Regions from separate parts of the Homo sapiens genome. Here regions 2 and 3 are each linked to region 1. Evidence: promoter capture Hi-C in 16 types of primary human blood cells and fetal thymus (Javierre and others, 2016). All regions are on one chromosome and are shown on one strand. The core of a region is centred on a gene start or on the middle of the fragment in contact, and the rest is flanking DNA. Distances in the headings are between cores, read along the strand shown. Region 1 holds the start of TDRD10 (tudor domain containing 10). Region 2 has its middle 4.7 kb from the start of AQP10. Region 3 overlaps ATP8B2 (ATPase phospholipid transporting 8B2).

What was found. The method cuts DNA at HindIII sites, captures the fragments that hold promoters and counts their contacts. A CHiCAGO score of 5 or more calls a contact.
Region 2: a fragment that was not itself captured here is called in contact with the fragment with the promoter of TDRD10 in region 1 in 1 of 17 cell types (M2 macrophages); the score reaches 5.2 in M2 macrophages.
Region 3: a contact is called between a fragment that was not itself captured here and the fragment with the promoter of TDRD10 in region 1, in 1 of 17 cell types (endothelial precursors). The highest score is 5.7, in endothelial precursors.

Annotation. Positions count from the first base shown.
Region 1 is chr1:154,500,203-154,504,485 of GRCh38, forward strand. TDRD10 (tudor domain containing 10) reads left to right here and starts at 2,017. Exons shown (of 13, transcript NM_182499.4): 1 at 2,017-2,827. SHE (Src homology 2 domain containing E) reads right to left here and starts at 2,210. Exons shown (of 6, transcript NM_001010846.3): 1 at 1,234-2,210. The coding sequence starts at 1,824. The HindIII fragment of the contact is 2,286 bases long and covers 808-3,093 here.
Region 2 is chr1:154,314,293-154,318,575 of GRCh38, forward strand. No RefSeq gene overlaps it. Among named protein-coding and RNA genes, the nearest start is that of AQP10, 4.7 kb to the right of the region's middle. The HindIII fragment of the contact is 2,713 bases long and covers 846-3,558 here.
Region 3 is chr1:154,343,725-154,348,007 of GRCh38, forward strand. It overlaps ATP8B2 (ATPase phospholipid transporting 8B2), which reads left to right. Exons shown (of 28, transcript NM_001370597.1): 18 at 169-333; 19 at 419-530; 20 at 671-776; 21 at 917-1,061; 22 at 1,247-1,430; 23 at 1,598-1,821; 24 at 2,076-2,159; 25 at 2,507-2,752; 26 at 2,896-3,034. Among named protein-coding and RNA genes, the nearest start is that of ATP8B2, 20 kb to the left of the region's middle. The HindIII fragment of the contact is 2,775 bases long and covers 982-3,756 here.

The DNA of each region.
Region 1 (4,283 bases), core at 767-3,266:
ACTGCCATTCACTTAATCCATTTTTCTTGACTACCCACCATGTGTACCGCATTTGCAAGATACAGTGAGCCCTTGGCTTCAAGGTGCTTGTGATCTAGTCACACAGTCAGGTGGACCACTGAATAACATATGAGCTGGGTCCCCGTCCATCTTTACACAGCTCTCCACTCAGTGCCTGGCTCAGGGTGGGCATGCTGTATTTACAGCATGAAAAAATGAATGGAAGAATGAACAGAAGTGCCCAATGCAGACATACACAGCATGTGTTATGGGCTCTTGACTTCAACCAGGGAGGTAGCATGTTTGAAGCCTGGGCAAGAGAAAATTAAAGCTCCCATGCATGTTAGGAAGTGATTGCCTGGACCGGAGTCTGAAATCTCGATTTGAGCTCTTCTCTCTCCCCCTTTCACATCGGAGAGAAGATAAAAACAACCAGATCGGACCAACTCATCTCAGCAAGAATGGAGGGAGTCCCTTCCTATGTTCACACTCCTTTTCTTAACTTTTCCACATTGGACAGCACCCAGAAAACCTCCAGTGTGTCCGTCGCAGGAAACACCCTCTCTTCTCATCTGTAATTTCCTTGAGAGCATTTCCTTGTCATATTCTGTATCCTCCACAGCCCTTAATGCCCTGTGCTCCTTTCCTCATATGGCTGCTGCGCAACAAATGCCCATGGAATGAATGAAAGGGCAGCAGTCTTGGAGATTTGCTGAACCTCCGAGGAGCCCTTTACTCGGTGGAACCGCAGAAAATGATGGAACTTCCAAATCAGTGGAGAAGACTGTTGGTTAAACCATTTCCTGAAGCTTTGAAATGCATATCTACACACTTGAGAGGTTACCATTCCTTATGCTCAAGAAGCATAAAAGTCATACACAAGCCTAGCTTTGCAATTCCCCTGAATATCAAAATTAAAATGAACCACATCTATAAAGGGGTCAAATGTAACCAAACAGGAATATCTCATTCAACGACTCTTCTAAACTGCTAACAAAATTCAATGGCTAGTACATTTCTGCAAAACTCCCCACCTCTAAAATAAGAGTTTTTCAAGAATTAAAAAACAGTCTAAGAATTTTAAATGGTCAGGAATTCCCAAATGGTGGAGGGAGAAAGGACCTTAGGAAACCTATCCTCACTGCCTCTTAGGTCTAAAGAAGCCTAGGGCTTAGCAGGCGCCCAGGGCTCCCCTTCGACTGAGAGGTGGTCCAAGGGAGGCTGTATTCTTACCGTCTCTTGCTGCTTAATAATCTTGCCCTTGTCCAGCTCGGGCCCCAGGGAGGAAGGGGAAGAGGACGCGGAGGAAGAGGAGCTGGAGCTGGAGCTACTGCTGCTGGGGTAGTTGCTCTTCCCGTTCTTCTCCTGAGTGTCCACCTTGATGAGCCTGTTGATGTAGGTGCTGCAGCCCGAGCTCTTGGTTGCACCCCGGTGGGGCTCCTCCTCCGTGGCCCGGGAGTTTTTGCGGCCCTTGCCCGCGGCGGCCTGAATCAGACCCTGCAGGCTGTCGCGGGACAGCCGGCTGTCCTTGGGGCCGACGCCGGCCCTGCCGCTCCCCAGCTCGGCCGCCGAGTTCTTGCGGCCCTTGCCAGGACCCGGCCCAGCGCCGCCCGCCTCCGAGTTCTTGCGCAATTTGCCGCCGCCGCCCCCGGGCTTGGCCCGCTCCGACACGGTCTTCAGGTTCAGGGGGAACTCCTTGAACCACTTGGCCGCCATGAGGGGGCCCCGGCCGGCTCGGCCCAGGAGCGTCGGGGCCGTGGAGCAGGCGAGCGAGGAAGCCCAGCCCAGACACGCAGAGGCGCCAGGGGTCGGGGACCACTGCATTCCCCGTGACTGGGGCGCTGGAGGCCGCGGCGAGGCCCCGCGACGGCTGCTCCGTGCGCCCCCGGCCGGCCGTCGCCCACGCCCGGCAGGGTGGGGTTCTCACGGCTCGGGGCGCCGAGCGGGCGGGCGCTAGCCTCTGCTCCGGACACGGCAGGCGACAGGCACGACGCGCGGGGGGCCCCGCCCGGGCTCGTCTTCAACGCCTGCCCGGCCCGAGGACACCGTGGCTCTCGGAGGCGGCGGGCGCCGGGGGCTTCCCCCTGCTCTTTCCTCCTGCGGTGGGAGAGGCCAGGCCCACGGAAGCCCCCTGCGGCCCAGCCCACGCTCCCAGGGACCAGAGAGGACCGAGCGGAGGCGGCGGGAGTATCCCCGGCGCAGCGACAGACGGTGGACGGACGGCGAGCGGCCCATCAACTCCGCGCGCCCCTCCCCTCCGCGGCTGGCGCCTCCCAGCCCCGCCACCTCCTGCCCAGAGCTGGGGGCGGCGGGGTGAGCGCCATGGCAGAGGCGGGTCGGGCTGCGAGCTCTGGAGAAAGGGGCGGCGGCCGCACGTGCGGATCGGCCGCGCCCCACTGAGCAGAGAGCCCCCTTCTGCCGCCGACAGCCCGCGTCTGCACCGAGCCGGTCTCGGCCGGGCGCTGCCTTCACACGCGCCCAGGAGTGTCACGTGCGCCGCTCACCCCCGGGAAGGAAGCCCCTCGCCCACCCACTCCGCTCTACTCCACTCTTTCTGCAGACGTTATTTTTGGCGGTAGGGCAGAGGTTGCGGCCCGAGGTCCGGGCGCAGGGACAACGGTCGCCAGCTCCTGCGCTAGTTCCGTTACTCTTCGGTGGCACACGGTCCTGGGCAGCGCGAGGCTCTTCCCGCCGTGGCCGCCGGGGATTGGCTGCCGGCAAGCCCCGCCCCGTGCCCCCGGGCTCAGAGGGGGCGGAGCGCGGAGGGAGAAGGCGCGAAGGCTGGGCGTCGCGATCGCAGGTGCACGCGCGTGGCCCGCGAGACGAGGTATGGCTTGTCGGCCCCAGGTCCCGGGATGCCAGGCGAGGGTTGGGAGGGAGGGGCGTCGGCAGGCAGCCATGGGAAACGCCCTCGTCCCGACTGATGGGGGAAAGGGGTCGCTGTTCCCGCGGGGCCGTCGCTCGCTCGCGCCGGTTGGGAGCGGCCCTCCTAGTCTGGATTTGTGCGGGCGGGGAGTGCCGTGTGCAGAACTGTGGCCACTTTAAGGGAAAAGACGCCTCTGCCATTCCTCCCTCCCTTCGAAGCCCTTTAAAAGCTTTCTGAGGCCGGGCGCGGTGGCTCACGACTGTAATCCCAGCACTTTGGGAGGCCGAGGCGGGCAGATCACCTGAGATCAAGAGTTCGAGACCAGCCTGGCCAACATGGTGAAACCTGGTCTCTACTAAAAATACAAAAATTAGCCGGGCGTGGTGGTGCGCGCCTATGGTTGCAGCTACTCAGGAGGCTGAGGCAGGAGAATCGCTTGAACCCGGGAGGCGCAGGTTGCAGTGAGCTGAGATCAAGTCACTGCACTCCAGCCTGGGCGACAGAGCGAGACTCCGTCTCAAAAAGACAAAAAACAAACAAACAAAAAAACACCTTTCTGGTTTAAAAAAAGAAATTTAAACTTAGTTTACTGAACGGAAATCTTTTGGTTTAGCAAACTAAATGTGCTGAAGGGGCTGACCAACACTGAGTCCTCATATACAATGGAAACAGAATGATGGCGACTGTGGACGGCCTCATTTGTGTGGGTGGTGGTTTGTGAGGTGGGAAAGCTAAAATGAAGAAATGCGTGCTCATACTGACGTTCTTGAAAATGCGTAGTGACATTTTTTTAAAGCTTTATTGAGATATAATTCACATACCATAAAATTCACCTGTTTTAAGTGTGCACCTCAAGTGTTTTCAGTATATTTGGTGTGTTTACAGTACAACCATCGCAACAATCTAATTTTAGAACATCTCCATCACCCCCAAAAGAAATCTCCCGTCAATTAGCAGTCACTCCTCATTTCCCTCTCCGCCTTCCCAGTCCTAGACAGCCACTAATCTACTTTCTGTCTATATAGATTTGTCTAGTCAGGACTTTTCAGAGAAGTGGAATCATGCAATATGTGGCCTTCTTTCCCTTAGCATCATTTTTCAGATTCATCCAGGTCGTATAGCATGTATTACTACTACATTCGTTTTATATTGCCAAATAATATTCTATTGTATTGCTATACAGCACTTTATTCATTCATCAGTTGATGGATATTTGGATTGTTTTCACTTTTTGGCTATTATAAGCAACACTGCTATGAATATTTGTGGAAAAGTCTTTGTGTGGACACATATTTGAATTTCTCTTGAATAGTTACCCAGGAGTGGACTTGCTGGGTCATATCGTAATTCCCTGTCTAACTTTTTGAGAGCCTGCCAAACTTTTCCAAAGTGGCTGCACCATTTTACATTCCTACCA
Region 2 (4,283 bases), core at 952-3,451, 190 kb before region 1:
GCGAAAACTCACCAAGACCAAGATGACCACACTGACCCCTGGTCTTCCTCACTGCTACACTCCCACCAGTGCCATGACAGTTTACAAATGCCATGGCAACAACAGGAAGTTATGCTATATGGTCTAAAAGGGGGAGGCATGAATAATCCACCCCTTGTTTAACATGTAATCAAGATACAACCATAAAAATAGGCAACCAGTGGCCCTCGGGGCTGCTCTGTCTGTGGAATAGCCATTCTTTTATTCCTTTACTTTCCTAATAAACTTGCTTTCACTTTACTGTATGGACTCGCCCTGAATTCTTTCTTGCATGAGCTCCAAATGCTTTCACATTTCATCCTATTTGTTTTTGTTGTTGTTGTTGTTGTTTTTGTTGTTTTTTTTTTTTGAGACACAGTTTCGCTTTTGTTGCCCAGGCTAGAGTGCAATGGCGCAATCTCAGCTCACTGCCACCTCCGCCTCCCAGTTCAATCGATTCTCCTGCCTTAGCCTCCTGAGTGGCTGGGACTACAGGCATGTGCCACCATGCCCGGCTAATTTTGTATTTTTAGCAGAGATGAGGTTTCTCCATGTTGGTCAGACTGGTCTCGAACTCCCGACCTCAGGTGATCCGCCCACCTCAGCCTCCCAAAGTGCTGGGATTACAGGCATGAGCCACCATGCCCGGCCTCCTTCTTGTCTTGTATGTCCTTAGCAGCTTGACCTTGTAACCATGTGGCCATGCTTTCTCTTTTCATAATGGCAGCCCTGGTTTAAAGTCCAATTCCCAGTTTAGGGGATGATCCTTATCTTCTGTCTGTCTGTGTATTTATATGTATTATGTGTGTAATGTTTATATATGGAAAAGCTTTAATTAATTGGTTTAACAATAAGAATTGCTTAAATCAAACATTTTATCAGAAAAGTAAAAAGTGGAATACCCTTTATTTAGTTCATGTGACTTAAGTAATCTTTGGGAAATAAATACAGTTTTAAAGATTATTGGTAAAATAAAAAATCTTCAAAAATGTAAACATTTTGTCCGGGTGCGGTGGCTCATGCTTGTAATCTCAGCACTTTGGGAGGCCAAGGCGGGCAGATCATTTGAGCTCAGGATTTCGAGACCAGCCTGGCCAACATGGTGAAACCCCATCTCTACTAAAAATACAAAAATTAGGTGTAGTGGTGCAAGCCTGTAGTCCCAGCTACTTGGGAGGCTGAGGGAGGAGAATTGCTTGAACCCGGGAGGCAGAGGCTGCAGTGAGCCGAGATTGAGCGACTGCACTCCAGCCTGGGTGATGGAGCGAGACTCTGACTAAAAAGAAACAAACAAACAAACAAAAAAAAATGTAAACATTTGGTCTAAATTATACAGGTCAGATATTAAGTTTGCTAAATTCTTTAAGGTCATAAGCTGCTTCTTTGACTATTAAAAATTGTTCAATTTTAGGCTGGGTGCAGTAGCTCACGCCTGTAATTCCAGCACTTTGGGAGGCTGAGGCAGGCAGATCACAAGGTCAGGAGTTCAAGACTAACCTGGCCAACATGGTGAAACCCCATCTCTACTAAAAATACCAAAAAATTAGCCAGGCATGGTGGTGCGCACCTGTAATTCCAGCTACTCAGGAGGCTGAGGCAGTAGAATCACTTGAACCCAGGAGGCAGAGGTTGCAGTGAGCCGAGATCATGCCATTGCACTCCAGCCTGGGCAACAGAGGGAGACTCTGTCTTAAAAAAACAAAAAAACCCAAAAAACAAAAAACAACAACAACAAAAAAAATTGTTCAGTTTATCTACTTTGGAGCATTAGATTAAATGTGTTATTGGTACATGTTCCAAAATTATGAGAAATTCCTATAATTCTAATATGACTTAGCGTATGTTATTAATAATTGTTACATAAAATTTTGTATGCAACAGAAGTAACCAAAATTTCCTAGTTAATTGTGGCTTTACTAGTGGCTGTCCTAAGACTTTTTTTTTTTTTTTTTTGAGACAGATTCTTGCTCTGTCACCCAGGCTGGAGTGCAGTGGCACGATCTCAGCTCACTGCAACCTCTGCCTCCTGGGTTCAAGCACTTCCTCTGCTTCAGCCTCCTGAGTAGCTGGGATTATGGGCACCTGCCCTATGCGGCTAATTTTTGGATTTTTGGTGGTGACGGGGTTTCACCATGTTGGCCAGGCTGGTCTCAAACTCCTGACCTCAAATGTTCCACCTGCCTCCGCCTCCCAAAGTGCTGGGATTACAGATGTGAACCACTGCACCTGGCCCTAAGACTTTTTATCATCCACAGACAATTGTTGTCTTGTTTTGATCTTCTTTAGAAGGTAGTTTATAATCAGCCATAGGACTTTAACAGGTGCACTTAAATGCAGGTTTCTGATAACTTTGGAGATTGTGACATTAGAATAGAGGAAACAACTTTCAGAACTCTCATGGGGAGCTGAAATGTTCATAGATATCAAACAAAAGTTAACTGCATAAACTAAAGAAGACTAAAGCAATCTTTTTGCCTTTGCTTAAAACATTGCTGATCCTTTGTTTTATTTTTTAGAGTCAAGGCAACTTTTCTTTTCAGATATTTACAGCTTTTAATAATCGAGTAAAGTATACTCCTGTGAACAAAATTTGGAGTATATGCATCTCTCTACTTGATTTCTCCAGAATTTGGAAATTATTTGTGTGTATTCTTAATTTATGGCAATGCAGTTATTTGCATAAGGGTAATAAGAATCTGTTTTCTTTTGCAACAGGACACAATTGGAGAAATTGTTTATTTTATGAAGGGTTTGACTGGAATGGTGTGCTTTCCATTAAGGAATCAAACTTGACTTGTAAAGCCTATAAAAGCCACTTAGCGACCTGGGCTCATAACCTTGCCTACACAGTCCCTGTACAGGGTTTCTGACCTGTGGTAAGTAAAGAATGTCACCTTCTAAAAGGTCCAGGAGCCCCAAGTTATCTGGGGACCTCAAAAGGAGAGGAAGAATTTACCCAACTCAAAGGTATTTGAGGGCACAAACCCATGGCAGGGCTCAGCTTTAAAAAGTCTTATCCAAGATTCTTTCTATGGAACAGAGTTCCATCAAAGCCAATTTTAAAAGCCTACGTGAAAAATAATTATTCTTGCTGCACTTTATACAATCATCAGGCCAAGTATAATAAAGCACATTGGTCTTACCATAAAAATGGTCTTTCATAAAAATGGGAAACTGGAGAGAGAAAAATTATGTTTCAAGAACTATGATACACTTGTTATTAAATTCCAGTCTCATCAGTTGTCTTTAAGTTTGTTTCTGCAATTTAGGCTAACCCTGCTTAGTCCTGTGAACCAACCAGTGGCCTCTGACTGCTGCTCAGAAGAAACAAGAGGGATGGGTAATGTAAAAATCTGCATCAATATTCTAATTCTGGGCATGTACTGGAATCATCTAGCAACCTCATATCAGCGTGGTTCCAACAGTTCCTCAGTTCATGGAAAGCCTTCTAGTTTAGTTTACTTGGGATAATTTTACTTATTTTGCTTTATGGTTGTGGAATGTATAGCTGTTGTAATCTTTGTATAGGAATGGAGGACAAGCTTACTGAATGTTTCCTTAAACTGAACACTTATGAATCTTCCAGAGTATCACCTTTTGTCAGAACTCATGAGTTATGAATGGCCCTCAAGATACCAATGCTTTTTCTTCCCTTCCCTTCCCTTCCCTTCTTTTCTTTTCTTTCAGATGGAGTTTCATTCTTTCAGGCTGGAGTGCAATGGCACAGTCTTGGCTCACTGCAACCTCCGCCTCCCAGGTTCAAGAGATTCTCCTGCCTCAGCCTCCTGAGTAGCTAGGGTTACAGGCACCCGCCACCACATCTGGCTATTTTTTTTGTATTTTTTAGTAGAGACAGTGTTGCACCATGTTGGCCAGGCTGGTCTGAACTCCTGACCTCAGGTGATCCGCCTGCCTCAGCCTCCCAAAGTGTTGGGATTACAGGCATGAGCCATCCCGCCTGGCCCATACCAACACTTTCCAACTGAGCTCCTCTCTACCACGAATATGAGAGATTCTAAGAGTTAGGCAAAAATATCATCGCCCCTATTCATCCTGAAGAACTTACAGAAGATGGACCTTCGTCCCTCTGCAACCCTTAGGATTAGTGCTTCTCTTATAAAAGGAAGGGGGGAAATGTCAGAGGCACGTGAACCAGAGCAAGTCTATTTTGAACAAGAGCTGAGTAAAATGAGAATGAGACTTACTGGGCTGCATTCCCAGATGGTTAAAGCATTCTAAGTTACAGAATGAGATAGGAGGTTGCC
Region 3 (4,283 bases), core at 1,119-3,618, 160 kb before region 1:
ACATCAGCCAGCTCCCATAGTTACCTCTTTTTATGTATGTGGTGACAGTCCCTAACTGTGGAATGTGGCACACACCCAGTCTACAGTGCAGGATTATTCATTGTCGCCCTCACGCTGTCCATTAGCTCTCCAGACTTACCCAGGTGTGCCTTTCCACTCTGCCTCCAGGAGTACGCAGGGGAAGGGCTGAGGACCCTGGTGCTGGCCTACAAGGATCTGGATGAAGAGTACTACGAGGAGTGGGCTGAGCGACGCCTCCAGGCCAGCCTGGCCCAGGACAGCCGGGAGGACAGGCTGGCTAGCATCTATGAGGAGGTTGAGAACAACATGATGGTACGGGCTGCGGGACGGGCCAAGGATGGGCACGGAGGGCTCATGCCTGCAATTCTTGTGCCAGGAATCCTTGTGGTATTTTCAGCTGCTGGGTGCAACGGCCATTGAGGACAAACTTCAGCAAGGGGTTCCAGAGACCATTGCCCTCCTGACACTGGCCAACATCAAGATTTGGGTGCTAACCGGAGACAAGCAAGGTGAGAGCCCAGCAGGGCAGAGCCAGTTGCAACTGACAGTAGCCCTGTTGGACCCTTGCATGGAGCCGAGGACATCAGGCAGGCAAGTGTGCTGACCTTGTTGGGTGCCTGTCCGTAGCTCCTGCGTTCTCTCTTGGTAGAGACGGCTGTGAACATCGGCTATTCCTGCAAGATGCTGACGGATGACATGACTGAGGTTTTCATAGTCACTGGCCATACTGTCCTGGAGGTGCGGGAGGAGCTCAGGTAAACAAGAAGCCCAGGGGAGGCGGTGCTGTGCGTTGTGCCCAGGGCTCAGGTGGGGGTTTCTGGACCATTTAGACTTGAATCCCTGCTCCCCACTGCCGTTCTGGAAGACCACAACCGTATCATTTCCACCTCGACAGGAAAGCCCGGGAGAAGATGATGGACTCATCCCGCTCCGTAGGCAACGGCTTCACCTATCAGGACAAGCTTTCTTCTTCCAAGCTAACTTCTGTCCTGGAGGCCGTTGCTGGGGAGTACGCCCTGGTCATAAATGGTCACAGCCTGGTAGGCATCGCTATCCTTAGCTTGGGCAGTATCTTTCCAGTGAGCACTTCTGTCCAGGGCTTTTATATCTTGTTCTAATTTCCCCTGATTTCAGAGAAGACTGGTCTCAAAGGGGACTGGGAGGAGCTGAGACTCCCAGGTGTCTCCTGGAAAGACTGGCTCTCTCAGGTTTCTCTGTGCTCCAGGCCCACGCACTGGAGGCAGACATGGAGCTGGAGTTTCTGGAGACAGCGTGTGCCTGCAAAGCTGTCATCTGCTGCCGGGTGACCCCCTTGCAGAAGGCACAGGTGGTAGAACTGGTCAAGAAGTACAAGAAGGCTGTGACGCTTGCCATTGGAGACGGAGCCAATGATGTCAGCATGATCAAAAGTGAGTGTGGGCTGTGCAGGTGTGTAGGCTGGGCTTGAGGCTGGGGAGGGGCCCACTGAGGTCTCTGGACTGCAGAAGAATGACGGGAAGGGGGTTGTAACTTGGTAGGCTCTAAAGTGTGTGGCCGGTGGCCATCTTCACCCTCTTGTCATCTCTTGTCTCTGCAGCGGCTCACATTGGTGTGGGGATCAGTGGGCAGGAAGGGATCCAGGCTGTCTTGGCCTCCGATTACTCCTTCTCCCAGTTCAAGTTCCTGCAGCGCCTCCTGCTGGTGCATGGGCGCTGGTCCTACCTGCGAATGTGCAAGTTTCTTTGCTATTTCTTCTACAAAAACTTTGCTTTCACCATGGTCCACTTCTGGTTTGGCTTCTTCTGTGGCTTCTCAGCCCAGGTAATAAATGTTCCCAGTCCACTGTTGTGCAAATCTGTAAACCTGAGGGCAGAGGTTCTGTCTTGTTTATCACTCAGTCCCCCAGGGCCTAGCTATTTTCTGGTACATACTCTTAAAAAATGCTTATTAAAGGAGGAGAGAAGGAGCCTCAGAAAATTTCTTAGGGTTCTCTGTATGTGACATCAGCTGTCTTCCTGTGCCTGATGTGTAGCAAAGAAAGGTTGCATGCTCCCTTGCTCCCTGTTCTCTTCCAGACCGTCTATGACCAGTATTTCATCACCCTGTATAACATCGTGTACACCTCCCTGCCAGTCCTGGCTATGGGGGTCTTTGATCAGGTATGGGGGAGTTTGATGATCAGATGGGATGCGGGGAAGGTCACTGCTTGAAGGAGTCACATAGACGTGGTGTGTGACACTTGTGCCCATTTCCTGTGGCCACTGGGAAGGCAGTTCTTTCAGCCGGGGAAGGTGTGGCTGGTTCTCCCTCCTGGCTGCAGCTGATCTAGAACTCTCTTGGGTTGCTGAACTAAGTTAGTCTGGGGGTAGCTGGCTTGAGGTTGGTTCTAGCTGCCAAAGACTTTGGAAAGGAGGAGGCAGGGACAGAGTCAGAGTCTGCCCTTGGTCATCCAGGGTCAAAACGGCAACCTCTGAGGCCCCCTATGCTACATGGTCCTCCCACACAGGATGTCCCCGAGCAGCGGAGCATGGAGTACCCTAAGCTGTATGAGCCGGGCCAGCTGAACCTTCTCTTCAACAAGCGGGAGTTCTTCATCTGCATCGCCCAGGGCATCTACACCTCCGTGCTCATGTTCTTCATTCCCTATGGGGTGTTTGCTGATGCCACCCGGGATGATGGCACTCAGCTGGCTGACTACCAGTCCTTTGCAGTCACTGTGGCCACATCCTTGGTCATTGTGGTTAGCGTGCAGGTATGAGGCCATCCAGGAACTCCCCTCTTCTCTGGAAGGAGTGAGCCTTCTGTCCCTGGGGCTGCCCTGGGCACCACAGTTCTGTTTCTGGGGGAAGGGGCTTTTAGGGCGTGCGCCTGCCTGACTATGCCTACTTTCTGCAGATTGGGCTCGACACAGGCTACTGGACGGCCATCAACCACTTCTTCATCTGGGGAAGCCTTGCTGTTTACTTTGCCATCCTCTTTGCCATGCACAGCAATGGGCTCTTCGACATGTTTCCCAACCAGTTCCGGTTTGTGGGTAAGTCCCCGTGGCCTCCTTGAATCGGTGAGGAATCACAGCTGTTCTGGGACTAACAGGACCATCAGCTAATCTGCACATTCAACATTTCTTATGTGCCAAGTATTCTGTTTATTTTATTTATTTATTTATTTATTTTCGAGAAGGAGTCTTGCCCAGGCTGGAGTGCAGTGGTGCGATCTCGGCTCACTGCAGCCTTCGACTCACTGCAGCCTCTGCCTCCCGGGTTCAAGCGATTCTCATGCCTCAGCCTCCTGAGTAGCTGGGATTACAGGCACACGCCACCAAGCCTGGCTAATTTTTGTATTTTTAGTAGAGATAGGGTTTCACCATGTTGGCCAGGCTGGTCTTGAACTCCTGACCTCAGGTGATCCACTCACCTCGGCCTCCCAAAGTGCTGGGATTACAGGTGTGAGCCACCGTGCCCAGCTAGCACAGAGAAATCTGAATAAAGGGAAAGGGAGCCTGCCATGTGGCTCTCTGGGAACTGTCAATCCAGGAAGAGGAAACAGCAATATAAAGGCCTTCAGCCCTGGCCTGGGAGGAGGTCTTCTGCACGTGGAGCTGGGGAGGAGTGGAGGAAATGAGTTGGAGGGTGGGGGTGTGGAATGAGTCAGGATTATTTAAGCCCTTATGGGTCAGAGGAAGAACTTTGAGTTTTTGAATTTTAATCTAAATGTGAGAGGAAGCCATTGGAGGGCTTTGAGCAGAGAAATACCAGAAGCTTACTTATGTTTTTAAAGGGCCGCTCTTACAGTTTCGTGGATAATAAAGTGTAGGGGGCAAGGGTGGAAATGGGAGACTAGGAGGTGAGAGCAGTCACCAGGTGAGCCTAATGAGGGCTCGGAATAGAGTAAAAGGCCGTGAGATTCCAGAGATGTTTTGAAAATGGAAACAACAGGCCGGGCGCGGTGGCTCAAGCCTATAATCCCAGTACTTTGGGAGGCCGAGGTAGGCGGATTACCTGAGGTTGGGAGTTCAAGACCAGCCTGACCCACATGGAGAAACCCCATCTCTACTAAAAATACAAAATTAGCCGGACTTGGTGGCACATGCCTGTAATCCCAGCTACTTGGGAAGGCTGAGGCAGGAGAATCGCTTGAACCTGGGAGGTGGAGGTTGTGGTGAGCCGAGATCGCGCCATTGCACTCCAGCCTGGGCAAGAGCAAAACTCTGTCTCAAAAAAAAAAAAAAAAAATGGAACCAATAGATTGAATGTGGGGTCCAAAGAAGAGAGAGAAATGAATCA